Regions from separate parts of the Homo sapiens genome. Here region 2 is linked to region 1. Evidence: promoter capture Hi-C in 16 types of primary human blood cells and fetal thymus (Javierre and others, 2016). All regions are on one chromosome and are shown on one strand. Each heading gives the region's core, a stretch centred on a gene start or on the middle of the fragment in contact. The rest is flanking DNA. Distances are from core to core; before and after follow the strand shown. Region 1 holds the start of ANKAR (ankyrin and armadillo repeat containing). Region 2 overlaps WDR75 (WD repeat domain 75).

Region 1 (2,700 bases), core at 26-2,525:
TGTGTCACATGGTAAGAGACGGAACAATAGAGAGAAAGGGGAGGTGTCTACTCTTAAACAACCAGATCTTTCATGAGCTCAGAGGTAGAGTTCACTCTGCCAGGAAAGCACCAAGCCATTCATGAGGGATCCACCCCCATAATCCAAACACCTCGCACCAAGCCCTACCTCCAACATTGGGGAATCTATTTTAACATGAGATTTGGAGGGGATAAATATCCAAATCATATGGATATTTATTTTGTTTTCAGTTTTTTAAAGCAAGACTATACTGACCTGCATGAAAGAAAAGAAAAGGGTGGGGCGCAGTGGCTCATGCGTGTAATCCCAGCACTTTGGGAGGCCAAGTCGGGCAGATCAACTGATGTCAGGAGTTCGAGAACAGCCTGACAAACATGGAGAAACTCCGTCTCTACTAAAAATACAAAATTAGCCAAACGTGGTCGTACATGCCTGTAATCTCAGCTACTCGCGGGGCTTGAGACAGGAGGCTGAACCCAGGAGGCGGAGGTTGCGGTGGCCTGGGCAACAAGTGTGAAAAACACTGTTTCAAAAAAAGAAAAAAAAAAGAAAAAGAAAAGGAAAGAAGCATTTGCTTAACCTTCAATTTCTGTGCCAATGAATGCCTGTCTATTCCTGAAATAATAATAACCACAACTACTATTTATTGAGCCAGGTTCTTTACTATATAATGGTTTGATTTATTTCATCTGATTGGTCTCTATTATATAGTGGTTCTCAAAATTTAGCTTGTATCAAAATCACCTGGGGCTTGTTCAAATACAAATCGCTGAATCCCACCACTGAGTTTCTGATTCAATGAGCTGTAGTGGGGCCAGAAAATATGCGTTTTAGTAAAGTTACAGGAAATGCTGATAGTGCTGGTTTGGGCGCCACACCTGAGACCCCAGGTCAGTGAGTCAGACCTTGTTATGCCCACTTTATAGAGGCAAAAACGGAGACCAGGAGGTTGCAGGACAAGTCTGAGGTTTTACGCCTTTCAGAAACAGAACCCACGTCTGTCCAGTCAAGCCCGGGACCCACGTCCAAAAGCAGCTCGCGTCAGCCATGGGCACGGGAAAGGGGAAAAAACAAGGAAAGGGGAGGAACCTACTCTAGAATGGCTGTTTTCTTGTCCGGGAGAGGGACGCTGCGTCCGCGGCGTTCCCGTGGGGCTGAGAACAGTCGTCGCCGCCTCAGATGGCTTCTCGCGGGGCCTTGAATCCGCCCTCAGGGCCTCCGCAAGGGCGAGCGGGAGGCGCACCGGAAGGAACTGAGAGGAACTTTCAGGGCTTTTCGCCCCACCGTGGCGGCCCGGCCCTCCTCGCCTCGCCGGCCAACACTGCCGCCGCCCGGGCGCGGGTCGAAGCGGTTGGTCCTCCGGGCCCTGGGGTGGCTGGGCTGCTCCTCGGGCGGAGCCTGCGGGCGACTAGGCCTGGTGCGTCCCGCAGCAGCCGCAGCGCCCCCAGGCGGCGCCCGGCCCCTTGGCTGGCTCAGACCCCCCGCGTGCGCATCATCCCAAGCCCGCTTAGCGCTTAGTCCAGCGGCATGCCGTGGGCACTGTGCCGCCCTCACTATCTGCCTCTGCTAAAACACCGAAACAGAGTAGCAGAGGAGACAGCGCCGGGCGTTGAGGCAGTCCCGAGTTGGAATACCACCTCCATCATCATTCTTTCATTCAACAAGCATTTATGGAACACCTATTATGAGTCAGGCACCCAGCTACAAGCTGGAAACCCTAGAAAACAGGGCAGACACGAAACCCCAAGGAGCTTACAGTTGAACAGATCATCTCACAGCTATATTTAACAGTGTGCCAATATTAGATGGAATGACAGCACTCGAATGAAAGCTAACCTAGCCCAGGGCTAGGAAAGGCTGCCTAAGGAAGTGCCCTTTTCCCCTCCGAGCCTAGAAGATGGAAAAGAGCTACCCAAGCAAAGGACTGGACAAGTAGCTTTTCAGGAACAGGGAACAGCAGGAGAGAAAGAATTGAAGTGAGAACAAAGTTGAAATGGTTGAGAAACCGCAAAACCCTGCTTAGAGAACAAGAGAGATGTGGGCACAAACCGAGCTGCTGAGGTGCGCGATGGACAGATCATGCAGGCTGCTGAGTAATGATTTTGAATTTCATCCCAAAGGATTAGCCTACAGTAGTGGCAGTGGAGGTGGGGCTCAGGGACTGTGGACAGATTTGAAAAATAATGAGGTTGCCTGTTGGTGACAGATTGGGGATATGTTGAAAAAGAAGGTTGTGTCCAAGTCAGAACCACATTTCTGTCAGGAGCAACAGGATATCAGGGCAAGATTAAGAGTTCAGTTATGTACTAATTGACCTTGAAGTACCTGTGAGAGAAATTGAGATGTGAGATATGCTTTAGATAAACAGTTCTGGGCTAAGAATGGCAGTAGGGGTTAGATGTATAAATTTTGGCAGATTTATAGTAATTGAAGCCAGGAGTGGGGTTGAAATCACCAAGGGAGAGCGTGCAGAATGAGGAGTTGAGAACCAAGGATTAGAGACCTGAGAAATTTAACATTTAAACGTCAGGTAGAGAGAGTGAAGTCAGCAAAGAAGACAAAAAGAACAGCCAAGAAGGCAGGAGGAAAACCAAAATTGGTCACAGAAGCCAAAGAAGTGTGTGGAAAAAAAAAAAGGAATGGCCAACTTTATCGGATGCTGCTGCTCGGTCAGGGGAG
Region 2 (2,700 bases), core at 19-2,518, 230 kb after region 1:
CTGGTATTACCTGTGGTTCTAGGCATCCACTGAGGGTCCTGGAACATATCCTCTGTGGACAAGGGAGAGCTACTGTATTACAACACACTAAATTTGTTGCAAACTGGGACCACTACTATCCTATTTTATTAGTTCAAGACACTTGATTTTCACTTGTTCATCTCTTTGAAATTAGAATGCATCTTATAATCAATGGTCTCTTGTAAGTGCTGTCAGCCAGGAGGCATGGTTGTATGAAATGGTATAAGATCAAGAATGTATGAGCAACAAAGCATTTGCGATATATAACCTGCCCTTTGGCTGGAGCCTCTTCTCCATTCCCATGAGTACTTCAGTTCAGAAGCTTAACATCTCCAGCCTGGGCCACTCTTCAGGGCTTCCTACAGTCTCCAGGTACAGTCCTTCAATGCAGCTTTCACAGTCACACCAGACTAATTTTGCAAATTTGACCATATTACTTGCTCAGATAAAGCTAAAATCCTTCACTGTTTTCCCTCTGACTTTAGGAAATGATCTAAATTCTTAAGGCTTTGGTAGTCTGATCCCAGTCTAACTTGAACTACTTTTTCACTTAACACTGTGCTCTATTAAAATAGTTCATAACTCCAACAATTTCCCCCATCCCCCAGACACACCCTATCAATATGAAGAGGTCCTTTAGATATGGCTTCCTTGAGACAGTGGTGGGTAGGGGGCTACTGTTGGCCAAGAAAACTTTCCCTAATTGATTCTGATAAGCTTCCTCAGAAAAAAGGAATATCCTCTCTTCTTGTTTCTCAGCATAGAACAATGGCTTCAATTACTTAAACGCAACCCTTCAAAGTCAACTTTCTCTCCATGGTTTTGCACTCTCTGCTATCTACATAGAACACGTTTTCTAATTACTTCTTTTTTATTTCCTAAGAGTAAGCTTATTTTTTAACTTTTAATTTTGAAATAATTTTAGATTTACAGAAGAATTACAGAGTTCCTGCATACGCTTCACCTAGCTTCCACAAATGTTAGCACTTTACATAAGCACAGCATGTTAGTCAAAACTAAGATATTAACACTGGTACATGACTATTGACTACATAATTTATTTGGAGCTCTTCACTTTTTCCATTAATGTCTTTTTTATGTTCCTAGACCCCAGTCCAGCATACCACCTTAGTTGTCATATCTTCTCAGAACCTTCCAATCAGTGACAGTTTTTCAGTCTTTCCCATTTCTCAGAACTCTTGACTACTGCTTTAAGATTCAGCTCAGAATTTTCTCCCGGAAGCCCTTCCTCATCTTCTCATTCTAGATCAGCACCCGTCCTAATGTGCTTCTACACGACGGTGGGCTTAGCTCCATCACAGAACTTACCACAAGGCATTAAGACTGTCTGTGTACTATGTTTCTCCTCTACCAGACTGTGAGTCTTTGAGGTGAGACACTGTGTTTTCACTTATTAGAAACAATAATAAGTCAAACACAAATGGATTCGAATGTCAGCTTTATTATGTATTAGCTGAATGATGTTGGAGAATTTACTTAACCTCTTTAAACTTCACATCTCCACTTACAGTTAGCCACTGTAAAATGTAAATAACACGTTCTCATAGAGTTTAAGTGAAACATTGCATGCAAATACAAGCTTAGCATACACAGCAAGCACTCACTCAATAGGGATAATACCTTAACCTTGTAGACTGGAAGGTGTGTAATGCACCCACCACAACACCTGTCACATAGGATTCATCTTTGTTGAGAAAGTGAAGAAGTAAGAAATTAGGGATGTTTCAAGTCGGAACCAAGATTTAAACTAGACTCTGAAGGATGTATGATTTAAGGGGTGGGAAGAAAAAATAGCAACATAAGCAAGAGCAAGGAAATGGTATGATTATATACAAGACACAGATAATGTACTTATCTGACAAGCAAAGTGTCTATAATGGGTAGTATCAGGAAACAGTTGGGTAGGAAGAGTTGAGCTATATCAGAGAAGGGATTGAAAGCCATATAGAGGAGCTATAGTTAAGGAGGCAACAAAAAACTGTTAAAAAGTTCAGAGCAAGACTAGAAATAAGAGTTAGAGTAATAATGTTATAACAGTAACAACTTAGGAAAATTGTTACAGCAGCAATACTCAGAATGATCTGTAAGGGAAAAATACTGAGTTTGGGACATTAGCTTGTGGGCAATTTAGGAAAGTGAAAGGCAAGGATGACTCATTGTTTCAGTTTTCTCTACCCTAACAACCCCAGTGCAATAATTCACAGCACCATATAACTGTGGGATGCCGCAGAATGGGATGCAAACAGAACTGGACTGAGAGTCAGTAATATCTAATATGGGAACACCAGGAACTTACATGTATACCCACATGCCCCTCAGAACAACCTACTCAAGTACCTAGAACAGAGTTTTTGTTCTAGTTTCAAGAGGAAGCCGCCAAAATTCCACAAGTCTGTCTTTTTATGATTTTGGCTTTCTTGATAAGCACCTTGAGGTAAAATACAAAATTATTCCTCTTTGTATAAGGCAGCCAATCCCTTGTGGTACCTTGTAGATAATATTCAAATCTTTGCTGAGTTCATTAAAATCCTGTCATTTGTTAGATAAATGGTTTTAATTATTAGCTTATATATAGATGACAAAAAAAAAATCTCTAAATCTTGACCAAGTTCTCCAAACTTCAGTCCTGAATTTCTACCTACTACTAGCTATATCCAC

The links. Contacts are between HindIII fragments. The CHiCAGO score rates a contact against its expected background, and 5 or more counts as called.
Region 2: a fragment that was not itself captured here is called in contact with the fragment with the promoter of ANKAR in region 1 in 2 of 17 cell types (non-activated CD4 T cells and monocytes); the score reaches 6.2 in non-activated CD4 T cells.

Annotation. Positions count from the first base shown.
Region 1 is chr2:189,673,245-189,675,944 of GRCh38, reverse strand. ANKAR (ankyrin and armadillo repeat containing) reads right to left here and starts at 1,275. Exons shown (of 23, transcript NM_001378068.1): 1 at 1,115-1,275. LOC105373793 (a long non-coding RNA gene) reads left to right here and starts at 1,660. Exons shown (of 2, transcript XR_923692.3): 1 at 1,660-2,114; 2 at 2,552-2,700. RefSeq lists an enhancer at 890-1,149 and a silencer at 1,200-1,619. The HindIII fragment of the contact is 6,953 bases long and covers 1-2,700 here.
Region 2 is chr2:189,444,029-189,446,728 of GRCh38, reverse strand. All of the region lies in intron 1 of WDR75 (WD repeat domain 75), which reads right to left. Among named protein-coding and RNA genes, the nearest start is that of WDR75, 3.9 kb to the right of the region's middle. The HindIII fragment of the contact is 711 bases long and covers 913-1,623 here.